Linked DNA regions of Homo sapiens: region 1 is linked to region 2. Evidence: promoter capture Hi-C in human tissues and cell types (Jung and others, 2019). All regions are on one chromosome and are shown on one strand. The core of a region is centred on a gene start or on the middle of the fragment in contact, and the rest is flanking DNA. Distances in the headings are between cores, read along the strand shown. Region 1 overlaps LMCD1-AS1 (LMCD1 antisense RNA 1). Region 2 holds the start of OXTR (oxytocin receptor).

Region 1 (7,013 bases), core at 4,249-6,748, 320 kb after region 2:
GTGACTGGGTGAGCTTGGAGCTGGAGCCAGGATGAGGGTACTTAGGCCTCTTAGAGTGGCTCACGTCACCCAGCCACAAAGGACTGAGGCCTCCTTCTCCAGCATCAGAGTGTACATACCAAAGGCCTGCAGTTCCCCAGTCTTTCCTTGCCCTCTCTTTCCCCAAGTCATTGTGCGTGCCATTCTCTCTGCCCAGGACTCTTTCCACAGCCAGCTTTATTTACCCAGCTGACTTCTGTTTGTCTTTCAAATATCAGTTTGTGGCATCTCCTCCAAGAAGACTTTCTTGACTGTATCCTCTCCCCCCTGGGGCTGTATCCTATCCCCTTCTCAGTTCCTTTGAAATGAAACCTTAGTGTTTCATTTATCCCATTCAACCGCGATTGTCTGCTGACTGTCCCCTTCTCAACTGTGATCTCCTGGAAGGCAGCGACTGTGTCTGTTTTGGTTCCTGCTGTGTCCCTGATTCCTAGGGTTTTGTCTGTCATGAGATGAGCAGTACATGTTTGCTGAATATACAATGAATGAATGGCCATGAAGATATTCACAGAGCCCCCACCTCCAACTCCAAGCTCTTACTTAGGCGGGTATTTCCAGTGACCGCTCATGACTGTGTTTTTGTGGGTCAGTTGCTGAATAGTCATCCATCTAAAGTTTTCATTCCTTCTGGAGTTGAGTTACTTAAATTCCCTTAGTTGGTAACTTCCAGCTACTCCAAGTTAGTCTGGGGACTCTGGTTTGGATTCAGACAGACCTGTGTTTAAGAGCCCACTTTGGTCACTTACAGGGTGAACTTGTGTGATTTTCTTAAAGTCCATAAGCTTTAGTTTCACCATCTGTAAAATGGGGCTGATGTTGACAACCCTATCTCATAAGGAGATGATGAGAATTAAATGAAAAGATGCACATAAAATGCTTCACATAGCATCCCCCAAAACACCAAATATTCAATTAACATTCTCAGTGGTTATTACGATGACACTTTGTGCCAGTCCTTAGGAATGGTGCTGGAGAGAGGAGTATTTCTCCTAGAATGGTAGAAAGCTGACATTTTATGCCCTTTATCACAGAGGAAGAAAGAATGCAGGGCTTCCACCTTGCATTTCCAATAATTATGGTTTTCCATAAATAGTTTCTTTTTTAAAAACAAAATGTAAGAATGTTTGAGTCCAGCCCAAGAATGTATGTTATGTTCTTTAAAAAGGAAATATCAACAGAGTTTTGGGTGACAACCAGTCTCATGTCGATCTTTCAAATAAAGCAAAGATGGAAAATATTTACAAAGGATTTTATCCGAGGGAAGTTAATTCTGAGTTTCCTTCTAATTCTGAGGACAAGGGGGTCAAATCATTTTGTGTAGCAAGACTTTTGGAATGGGCATTGTAAAAGTTGAAAGAACACAGCTGCTCCCTGTGGAGCATGGTGTGGGTGGCCTTGGAGAGGCAGCCAGGGTGGTGGGAAGACAAGGTCTGGACTCTACCTCCCCTTTGCATAGGTTGACATCTCTGAATCTCAGTTTGCCCATCTATGAAATGAGCATTATGGAAGGTAGCTGGCTAACAAGAGAGATGTGAGGACTGAGTATACAAAACACATTTTCCACAGCATCTGGCACATCACAGGTCTTCACAGATGTTGGTGTTTTTTTCTCAGTCCTCCTCCACCTCTTTGTCCTCCTCTTCTTCTTTAAAAACTACTTCCTTTAATACTATTACGACTTCTTCTATCACTATTATTACTACTTCTAGTATTACAACTTCATCTATTAACTACTTTCGTTTCTTTTACTACTAATTCTGTTTTCACTGCTGCTACTACAACTATGTCTATTACTGCGACTACCACAATTACTACTGTGATTTCTTCTATAAGTTCTACTTCTTCTACCACTACTGTTACTACTATATCTTCTTCTTTTTCTTTTCCTCCTCTTCCTTTTTTTCTTCTCCTCCTCTTTCTCTTCTTCTTCTACTACTACAGTAACTTCTACTGCTATTTATATTAATGTTGCTAATCCTCCTCCTGCCACTACTTCTATTACTACTGCTACTCAACTGCTACTACTTCTGTTATTACTTCTTTTCTGTTACTATTGTTTCTTCTATTACAGCTACTACTTCGATTATTACTACTACTGGTACTTCCGGGGCTTCTACTACCACTACCACCTGAGTTAATCCAATCAGCTCATTTTTTGAGTGGGATAAAGAACCCACACAAGATCAGAATTTGCAAGAGTTAGAAGTGGGACCAGAAATCAGGTCCCCTAACTCATAGACTCATGTTCTTTTCATTCCTCCATAATCTAGCATTGCAGGACTATGTATTACAATAGTAATTCATGATCATGGAAACTGAAAACAATTGACTAAATAAATATGAGGCTCAAGGGTATACTTACTGGCTGTATGATTGTAGGCAAATACCTCACTTTTCTCACCAGCAAAATGGAGATTATAGATTGCTTATTTCATCCAGTTGTTGTGAGGACTACATGAGTCAATACAGGCCAAGTGCTTACACTAGATACTGGCATGCTTCTAACCAGTGGGAAACTCACTTGTCCTTGTCCCCCTTCCCAGCCCTCTGCAACCATTTGTCTCTTTGGTTCTCTCTCCTCCCTGCAAAAGGAAGGAGTATCTCAGCCATTGCCTAGGCAAATATCAGACTGGATGACCAGATGATGTAGTTCCCTTACTCGTAGGCACCACTGACTAACTACTCCAACCATCTCTCTGTCTCTGTCTTTCCCTCCTTGTCTTCTTCCTTTCCCTCTCCCCATCTTCCTCCCTCTTTCCTTCCTTCTTGTCCAACACCCCCTTAGTCTCCTGCCCTGGTGGTGGTGTGCTGGGGCTGGAGCTGGGGCTGCTGGCCAGGGATGGCTGCATCTCCATAGGTGCTGGTGGGGTCCTTGATGCCTTGGAGTCAGCAGAGATCAAGAGCAGACACTGGAGTCTGCTCAGGTGGAAATCCTGCTCTGACAGTACCATCTTTATGGCCTTGGGAAAGTGGCTTAACCTCTCTCAGTCTCAGCTTCCACATCTCTTGTGAGGGCTAAATAACTTAATATATGAAAATCTCTTAGTACAAGGCCCAGCACATTTTAAGTGCTAAGTCAGAGAGAGTCCCCCTTCACATCCTCTGTGTGTGTGTATTATTGATGTGTGTGTGTATTATGGATGTGTGTGTATGTGAATGAGAGACAGAGAGAGAGAGAGAGCTGACACGCCAGGCATTCTCTGTTTATGCTTTGTGATGATGGGAGAAGAGGAACAAAAACCTAAGTGGAGGTCTGGATGGGGCCTACTGGAGCAATTTCTTCCAGCCCTGAGAGTGTGGAACATGATTAGAGACCTTCTTCCAGGTCTGTCTCCGCCTCCCCTTCTGTAAAGCCAGACCAGAGTGGAGCAAAGAGCCTCAGGGTGTGGGGGCAGCAGTGACCTTTGGGTTCCAGTCAGACTGTGAACAGCTCTGGGTCGCCACTGACACATTGAGAAGGAGAGGGAGTACCACAGAGCCAGCCTGCCGGGATTTGGGTCCTGCTGTGTTGTATCCTAGCTGTGGGACTGTAGGCCCATTGTTTGGCCTCGGCGTACCTTGGTTTCCTGTTTATAATGATGGCACTTAATTTATTGGGTTGGATGAGCATTAGAGTTAACATGTGTAAAGTACACGAAGAGCGCCTGGATATTGTTAGTATCATATAATTGTTCACTATTACAATTGCTATTAATTGTTGTTATATCATCAATTCTCCACAGAATCCTTTTATTCTATTTGCTCAGCCTTGCCAAGCCACCTCCCGTTGACCACACTGATACAGATTGGGTTTTCTGGAAGCAGACCCTGAACGTTTGTTAGTGATCAACACCAATGAAAGCGTGGGGAAGAAGAAGGGCTGGGCAGAGGAGAAGCTGAACTGTTATGCATGCCCCACAAAGACCTTCAACCCAGTGGAGGGCTTAGGAACTGGTACTGCCTGTTAGAGCTTTCTCCTGTGGTACAGAATGGCCAGGCCTTTATACCCCCACCTTGTTCAGTCACTGGATATAGGCTGCTCCCAGGAGGCCATGACCTTGTGTGGAATGGCTCTCTGCATCCGAGGCAGAGCCCAAAAAGCCAAGAGCTAGAGGTAGCAAATCCTTTCCTGAAGGAGGATCTGGGAAGTAGAGTTCTTGGTCTACTGGGACACACGCATTTTGAATTTTTAGGTATGCAAGCTTTATTGATCATTTTAAGATGATTCCTTCTGAGCGGTTTTCCAAGACTGGCCACAGAATCAAGAACACCCCCGAGCTGGAAGAGATCTTGCAGACCTTCTGTCAGCCCCTTCTTTACCACTTGGGATTTTGAGGTCCACAGATGGATAAGACCGGCCGAAATAAGTCACTGAGCTGGGAATAGAACAACTGAATTATGGATTTTGTTTTATTTCAAACAATTTAAATTTAGACATCTCACTGGGGCCAGTGGCTACTGTGTTGGACAGTTCCATAGCCTTAGAAGAGTGCATCCTCAATCTTACTTAAAACCCCTAATGGCATTACCTGACAGGCAACAGAGTTGAGGTCAGTTTTCTGCCCCTATTTTAGGTGTCTTTTAATATCCTTTGTTTGATTTCAATCCACTTGAAGGACTTTGTTTGCCGATCTGTAAAGATTGCTTACTTCCTTTGCTCTTCTGTGCCGCTTGCAAACGTCTAATTTTCTTATCTGCAGACTAGTAATCTCTTATATTTCATTCATAAGGCATTCATCTAAACCTTGCATTTCAGCTGCTTGAATTTTCACAAGGAACTAGCAATTCAACTCCCCAGGGGTTGATACTTCGGGTTCTCTTGTGCCGTTCTCCATCTCATTTTTGTGACTACGCATCATAATTCTTCCTCTATGAATAATCTTTTCTTCCTGCCTGGATGAGGTGGCTGCCTCTCCAGCCATCCACAGAGATGAAGTCTGATGCTCAGTGCTGGAAGTGATTTTGCTGTTTGTGTCATCAGTGATTAGAAAGAGTCAACCTGTTATTAATAATCAGAAAGCATCAACTTGTTTGATTCTGTCTTGGAGCCTTATGTCTCTGGTTCGGCTTGTGGAGGTCTAATTCTGGATACGAGATTGCTGGAGCATTTCCTGGTCGCTGCATCTAAATAAGAGCATGACTTCTATCTTTCACCTTTTTATATAGTGAGGGGAGAACAGGAAACCCAGGCAGGAGAGTTCATATGATTATAGTGGTTTGCTATTGTTTTTGACTATACAGCAATCCTCCCACTTTTTTTTTGGCAATAGCACCTTATCTTAGGCCGGGTTCCCCCAAAGCACATCCTGAGTGGGGATTTGGGTACAAATGAGTTATTAAGAGAGTGTTCCTGGAAGAAACTGGTAAGGCAGTGAGGAAGTAGGGCTGAGGCGAGGGAGATGCTGAGCAAGGGTGCCATTTAAGCAGTCCCAGCCTCAGCCCCATCCTATGGGAGCTCCGGAGTGTGAATGACACCTGACTTGAGGCAAAAGGGCTGAGTTTTCCTGTTCCCCCACCATGGGTCTCCCATGTGGGTATAAACACCCAGGCATTCTCAGCTCTCTGAGCTTGCCAATGGCTCCAGCAGCCCAGGACTATTCTTTGAAGAACATTGGTGTTAGTTACTGGTAGAGACAAAGCTGTGGGAGGGGAAGAGAAATGGTCAAAGGGATTCCAGGGAATCTGGGTGGAGTGGGCAGAAGATGTGACCACTGCATACCTCAGTTTTCCATTGAGGAAATGCCTCTTTTGTGTTCCTTTTGGACTCATCAGTCAGGATCAGGGGTTCCCAACTTTGACACTACTGACATTTGGGGTGGATTCTTTGTTGCAGGGGGATGCCTTGTGAGCTGTAGGATATTTAGCAGCATCCTTGGTTGTGAAATCCACTGATGCCCCCTGGTTGTGACAACCAACAATGTCCTCAGACAATGCCAAGTGTCTCCTAAGGAGCAAAATGACTGCTGATTCATAACCATTGGTTAAGATGAAATGCCAGAGAATGGACTTGTGACCCAAGCTGGAATAATCAGGCTCTCCCTCCTTGGAATTTAACTCTTGAGCTGAGGGATATCCTAAAGTGACTGGGCAGGAGTTCTTGCTATGTAGATGCTCACAGATGCTCTGGTTTCTGGATTCTTGAGGCTTTCTTTTCCTTTTAGTTTTCCTTTGATTCTATTATATGTCACTCCAATACCTTTCAACAAATTCTTTCTATGCTTAACTTGAGTCAATTTCTGGTTGCCTACTACAAAAAATTCTTAATGAACACAATGATTAATCTGTTACATCTTATGACTTGATAACTCTAATCTCAGAACATATAGGTATCTATAGACATTGAATGGAATGGAGAAATTAGTTTGACCACAATCACTTCTCCTTTTTTCTAATCTTCCACTTTCTATTTCTCACCTTCACATACATTTGCTTTACATTTTTCCTGGCACCGCAGGGTATGCTGGATTTGTTAACTAAGACAGTCAGCAATCTCCTCTTGAAGAAAGCCTCTTTCTTTGCTACTTCACCAAGCCTTGGTGATATGGTTTGTCTGTGTCCCCACCCAAATCTCATCTTGAACTGTAGCTCCCATAATTCCCACGTGTCATGGGAGGGACTCAGTGGGAGGTCATTGAATAATGGGGGCAGGTCTTTCCCATGCTATTCTCATGATAGTGAATAAGTCTCATGAGATCTGATGGTTTTATAAAGGGAAGTTCCCCTACACAAGCTCCCTTGTCTGCCACCATGTAAGATGTGACTTTGCTCCTCCCTTGCCTTCCACCATGATTGTGAGGCCTCCCCAGCCATGTGGAACTGTGAGTCAATTAAACCTCTTTTCTTTATAAATTACCCAGTCTTGGGTATGTCTTTATTAGCATCATGGGAACAGACTAATACGCTTGGTGACAGAAGAGTCTATTGCTTCAGGATACATCATCTTACAGGAGACGTATAACTGGATTTTTTTTCCCCAGGGATTTATCTTTTCCATG
Region 2 (6,656 bases), core at 4,157-6,656:
CAGGAAAGGCCTCCCTGAAAGGTAAAGAGTCAGTATCCCCATCTCACCAGTTAGGGTTCAAAGGAGTTACTTTCCTTGCCTGGCACAGTGACATTCCCCCTACCTTCCAAGATGCAGTTTGTCTGATTAAATTGAAAATATTATGAACTCCATCCAGAAAGACTAATAAGATGGAGGTTGATTGGATCAGACACTATTTTCATGGAGTGGTCCTGGGGTCAGGATTGTCAGCATGGGAATAAAGATTTGATTGTATAGTTCTCTGCTGTTTGTGAAGCACTCTTCATGTGCATTAAGTTTGGTTTATACACACAGCCTCATGTGATCAGCACCTGGGGAAACCAAGTCTCAGAGAAGTTCAGTACCTTAGCCACGCTGACAAAACGTGGTAAAATCCAGATGCTAGCAAGCACTTACTGCTGCAGATTCAGAGCTCTCTCCAATAGGAAAGCACATTTTTCTCTCTTTCTCCACCCTGCATGGAACACAGGAATGAAAACAAAGGCTGGGAAGTCCAAAATCACACAGGCTAGAAGGAATCCGTGCAAGTTCTACCTATAAGCAGTGGCCTCCTGACACAGCATCCTGGCACGGCCTCAGGAACTTCCCAGGTCAGCCCATGTGCCCTGATGTGCCTGCATCCGCACAGAGCTATAAATGTAAGAAGATCAAGTGTGCCAGCAGCAGGCTGATTGCTACAATGTGTTCTCAGCCTTTATGCCTGAGAGCATGTCACTGACCCCCCTCCTGGAGCTAGGAGCCCAAGCAGAGGCTGAGAAGTTATTTGGGGGCAGGCTGGGGAGGCGGTGATGTTAGGGAGGGGGTAGGTTGGATGTGTTTATAGCTCATTTCCACTCTGACAATAGAGCAAAGGCCGCTTGGGCTTGGATCCATGTTGAAATAAATGTGCCAGGGCTGGAAAATTCCCAAGATGCTAAAACTCAGACCCAGTTCCCAGAGGCAGAAGTGGGTACAGGACAGGTCATTCTCTGGGCAGGATACCTTCCCCAGAGGGCCTGGTTCTGCCCATGGAGATGTTTATTTCTTCCCTCCTTTCCCCCTTCCTTTTATCCTTCTGTATTTAACAAATACCTGAAAGGTGCCTATTCTATAGTGACCTAGGCCTTTCGAAGTACAGGTATAGACAATATTGGCCCCACCTTTAAGATGCTTGGATACAAGAAAAAAACAACCCCATTAAAAAGTGGGCAAAGGACGTGAACAGACACTTCTCAAAAGAAGACATTTATGTGGCCAACAAACGTATGAAAGAAAGGTCAACATCACTGATCATTAGAGAAATGCAAATAAAAACCACAATAAGATACCATCTCATGCCAGTCAGAATGGTGATTATTAAGAAGTCAAGAAACAACTGATGCTGTAAAGGATCTGGAGAAATAGGAATGTTTTTACACTATTGGTGGTAATGCAAATTAGTTCAACCATTGTGGAAGATGGAGTGGCAATTCCTCAAAGACCTAGAACCAGAAAGACCATTTTACCCAGCAATCTCATTACTGGGTATATACCCAAAGGAATATAAATCATTCTATTGTAAAGATACCTGCACATGTATGTTCACTGCAGCACTATTCACTATAGCAAAGACATGAAATCAACCCAAATGCCCATCAATGATAGACTGGATAAAGAAAAAAATGTGAGATATATATATATATATCTATATCTATATAATCTATATATAGATATATATAGATTATATAGATATAGATATATATAGATTATATATATATAGATTATATAGATATATATAGATTATATAGATATAGATATATATAGATTATATATATATAGATATATATAGATTATATATATATAGATATATATAGATTATATATATATAGATATATATAGATATATATATATATAGATATATATAGATATATATGCCATGGAATACTATGCAGCCATAAAAAGGAACAAGATCATGTCCTTTGCAGGATGGATGGAGCTGGAAGCCATTAACCTCAGCAAACTAATACAGGAACAGAAAACCAAACACCACATGTTCTGACTTATAAGTGGGAGCTGAATGATGAGAACACAGACACAGGGAGGGGAACAATACACACTGGGGCCTGTCACGGGGGCAGAGGGAGGGAGAGCATCAGGAAAAATAGCTAATATGTGCTAAGCTTAATACCTAGGTGATGGGTTGATAGGTGCAGCAAACCACCATGGCACACATTTACCTATGTAACAAACCTGCACATACTGCACATGAACTCCAGAACTTAAAATAAAAAAAAAAAAAAGATGCCCGGATACTCAGACAGATGAAGACATTTGTAAATCAGGGATTGCTGAATCTCTGTCTGTGATGGTTCATTTTGTGTGTCAGCTTGGCTGGGCCATGGTGCCCAGATATTTGGTCAAATATTATTCGGGATGTTTCTGTGAGGGTATTTTTGGATGAGATTAACATCTGGAACAAAGTAGATCACCCACCATAACGTTGGTGGGCTTATCCAATCAGTTGAAGGTCTATATGGAACAAAAGACTGACCTCCCTGAGCAAGAAGGAATTCCGCAGCAGAGGACCTTTGGACTTGACCTGCAAAATCAGCTCTTCCCTGGGTCTCCAGCCTGTCAGCTCACTCTGAAGATTTTGGACTTGCCAGCCTCCATAACACATGAACCAATTCCTTAAATGAATCTCTTTCTCTACATATATACATCCCAATGGTTCTGTTTCTTTGGAAGACCGAAAGACACCCTGTAATGTCACATCTTTTGTCCATGCCTACAGCATCTCTTGCCTGGATCTCCAAGGCCTTCATAATGCCAGTATCTCCTTTCCCATCTTCCCTGTGGCTACCAGCATTCTCTCACCAAGCACAGATTTGAGTACGTTGTTTTGCTTGCAGTCCTTCCAGGCACCCCACCTTCCCCACCAATGCCTTCTAACCTCAGTCATCTTTACACTAGCACCTTCATGATTTTTGTTATATCAGACTTTCTCTTTGCTGACGTCAAAAGTAAGCAGAACTGAGAACTGAATTTCCTCCCTGTTATTCAGTATCACTCAATATTAAATTCACATTTAACACTATCAGAAAGTATTCCATCCCATATTTTGGGGAATGTTGGGTTACAGAATAAAACCCATTCTCCTTTACATGGCCTTGAAGTTCCTTTAGCATCAATAAGTACAGTTATCTCTTGGTATCCATGGGGGATTGGTTCCGGGAGCCTTCAAGGTACACAAATCCCTGATATAAAATGAAGCAGTATTTGCATATAACACGTGCATATCCTCTCACATACTTTAAGTCATCTCAAGATTACTTGTAACACCTAATGCAATGTCACTCGTCACTGCATTTGTGTGCATTCAGTGTTGTAGGTGGCACATGACAAATTCAATTTTTGCTTTTTGGAACTTTGAGGATTTTTTTTCCTGAATATTTTCAATCCATGATTGTTTGAATCCACTGAACTCACAGATACAGGGATATAGAGGGCCAACTGTATGTATTAAGTGCTGGCAATGTGCTAGGCACCAAGCAATTCATCTTTAGTCCTTCCTCCAAAACGCCAAAGTGATTCCCCTGCACCACTCTCTGAGAAGTATGCCTTTTTTCTTTGCTTCCTGGAGAACTCATTCTGGAGCTCTGAAATCCAGCTACCTCTTTGTAAAACGATCTCCCAAGTATTACCTCAGCCCCCAGCAGTCCTCACTTCTGTAACATCATTTATTGTTGTCACACTGCAAATATTAGGTTGATGCAAAAGTAATTGCAGTTTTTGCCATTATTTTTAATAGCAAAAACCACAATTACTTTTGCACCAATCTAATATGTGTTTTTCTCCCTGGCCGAAGCTCAAAGGTGAAGGAGCATGTCTTATTCATTGTTAGGAGTTTTCAAGGGGACCTCTCTATTTCCTGCCTGGTTTCTGCACACAATGAGAAATAAAACAAAAGACAGGAAATGGGGATCACACTATTACTGTTGTTGTTATTGTTGTTGTTTAGATTAAAACTAAGTTAGAGAATTTACCTTTTGCATGAGACTAAATAGCCCTGTTAGGTGAATCCAGAATTAGGCTGTCTCACGGGCTACGCGAGGACCACACAGGTAGGCAGGCTTCCCTACAAAGGGTAGAAGAGTCTGTCCTTGGTGAAGTGGCTCAGTAAACTTGCTCCCTAGAAAGCAGCTGTCTTCCAGGAGAAAGAAGGGCAGGCTTGGTTCTACAGGCCAGTGTTTTCCTTCTCACATTCACCGGTCAGGGGCTCATAGGGAAAAATCTGCCTTCATCCAGCCGTGGAGTGAGGCAGGGGTGTTTTACCTGCTAGGATTGAACCCTCAGATTGCACAGATTATACAGTTTCAGAAAACCAGAGGGACAGGACCTCAGACATTAGCTATCTTGACCAGTGCTCTCATTTTACATATGAGGAGACTGAGGCCCAAAGAGAAGGGGCTTGCCCAAGGTCACTTCATTCTCACCTGAGTCGTCTGTAACTTTAATCTGTAATTTTCGAGGCCGATAGGTACTATTGACTAATATTGATTAATACTGCCTGCCACCCCTTGGCAATGCTGTCAAGATTCCCAGCCCCATTCTGGAATGATTACTCAGCTAGAACCCTGGGATCCAGGTGCTGTAAGGTTGGCCCCTGGGATATCTCGGCATGGGGCTGTAATTGTGGATTAAGGAAACCCAGTCCTTGGCTAACTCAAGTCTCTCCACATAATAAAAAGACGGAGAAGTGAAATGTCAGGAGGAAATACACATTTAATGCATTTTAAAGAGCCCTGTTTATTTTTGAATCCTGGCCTTTTTTTCTGACTTAATTCTTGGCCACTGTAAATTACTTCAAAAAATGATTTTAGAATAGAGAAGGGGCAGGGAGGCTGAGAAGCTGTCTTTAACATTTTATCTTCCTTTGGCATCATTTAGAATTTTAATTCCGAAGCGCGACAAGGAGGCAGAAACGGCTCTTGGGCGCAGACAAGCAGAATCACTTTAAATGAAGACAGTGTTGTGCTTCAGAATTTCCTCTAAAACTACCGAAAAAATAACGCCTCTCCCAGCACTGCTTAGAATAGAGGCCATTTCTAATTCCTCATTAACGGGAATAGGAACAAAAGTATTCCAAAGCAAAGACTTATTTGAGTTCACTGCTAAAGCCGCTACATCAAGCTGGAGGTGTGGGGGGAGAGAAAAGCCTGAAAATTAACATCATTTTTGGGAAATAATCAGTTTAAATGCTTTTGTAACTTCATCACTATCTACCCGGGGAAGAACATTATTATTCAAGCCTCCTATGTGTCTCGGAGTCAAGAGCTTCTAAACCAAGAAAGGAAGAAACGGGCGGGTTATTGACGAGTTCCCTCCCTCTCGCAGTTTTAAACCACTGCAAAATAAACCCATTTGTTAAGGCTCTGGGACCAACGCTGGGCGAACCAGCTCCGCTCCGGAGGGGTCTGCGCGGCTGGCCTCGCCCGCCCCCTAGCGGACCCGTGCGATAGTGCAGCCTCAGCCCCAGCGCACAGCGCCGCATCCAGACGCTGTCCGCGCGCGCAGCCTGGGAGGCGCTCCTCGCTCGCCTCCTGTACCCATCCAGCGACCAGCCAGGCTGCGGCGAGGGGATTCCAACCGAGGCTCCAGTGAGAGACCTCAGCTTAGCATCACATTAGGTGCAGCCGGCAGGCCATCCCAACTCGGGCCGGGAGCGCACGCGTCACTGGGGCCGTCAGTCGCCGTGCAACTTCCCCGGGGGGAGTCAACTTTAGGTTCGCCTGCGGACTCGGTGCAGGTAGCTGGGTGCTAAGCAGGGGTGGACGGGATGGCTAGGGCCGGTGGAGCCATCGGGACCCGAGTGGAGGTGGTGGGGTGCCTCGCACTCCTTGTTCCTGGAGGAGCTCGGGGTGTTCCGAGAGATTGTAAAGTGACTTCTCGGGATTGAGACTCAGAGTCCTTGATTATCTGGGTCCAAAGCGCAAGTCAGGGGTTCCAGAACTTTCGAGGCTGCCGGGCTGGGGAGGAGCCCCGCGGGAGGTGTCTATGCCAGGGTCTGGGAACAGCGCTTGGGCATCTTGGGCTTTGAGGCAGGGGTTCCCCCAGCAGGGACTGCAGAACCGGGTTTCCACCGAAGCAGGTGCTGTGGAAGTTCAGGGAGTGACGGCCGACCGTCTTAGAAAAGGGGGTTAGACGGGGAAGGACCAGAGCTGGGGTTTCCCAGGCAAGTGGCTATTTGGGGATTTCCGGAGGAAGTACTTGAATTAATGTTTACTAGGAGAGGGGCTGGTTTGGGGGTCCCGCGGCAGGTGGATATGCTGAGGGTCGGAGCCTGGGGCGAGTAGGTAGTTTGGAGATTCCCTCGGGGAGGTGATTTGGTTTTAGATTCCCACTCCCGGAGGAACGTTGCTGATTTTGACCCTCCCTTCTCCCCCAGTGGAAGCCGCTGAACATCCCGAGGAACTGGCACGCTGGGGGCTCTGGGCTTGTGGCCGGTAGAGGATTCCCGCTCATTTGCAGTGGCTCAGAGGAGGTACCTCCAACGGGGATTTCTGGGGTGGCGGCTGAGCAACCCGAGGCCGGCGGTTGTGCCCTGTTGTTTCAGATGAGTTGGGTTCCTGGGAATGGGACAAGCACGCCCTACCCGCGTCGGAAGAGAAACGCGG

The links. Contacts are between HindIII fragments. The study calls those that stand out against the background at their distance.
Region 1: a contact is called between a fragment that was not itself captured here and the fragment with the promoter of OXTR in region 2, in 1 of the 25 tissues and cell types used here (small bowel).

What each region holds. Positions count from the first base shown.
Region 1 is chr3:8,449,780-8,456,792 of GRCh38, reverse strand. The region is part of intron 3 of LMCD1-AS1 (LMCD1 antisense RNA 1); the gene reads left to right. Among named protein-coding and RNA genes, the nearest start is that of LMCD1-AS1, 48 kb to the left of the region's middle. RefSeq lists an enhancer at 122-688. The HindIII fragment of the contact is 5,954 bases long and covers 2,522-7,013 here.
Region 2 is chr3:8,768,363-8,775,018 of GRCh38, reverse strand. It overlaps OXTR (oxytocin receptor), which reads left to right and starts at 5,406. Exons shown (of 4, transcript NM_000916.4): 1 at 5,406-5,788; 2 at 6,428-6,523. RefSeq lists enhancers at 5,242-5,291, 5,939-6,610. The HindIII fragment of the contact is 11,538 bases long and covers 1-6,656 here.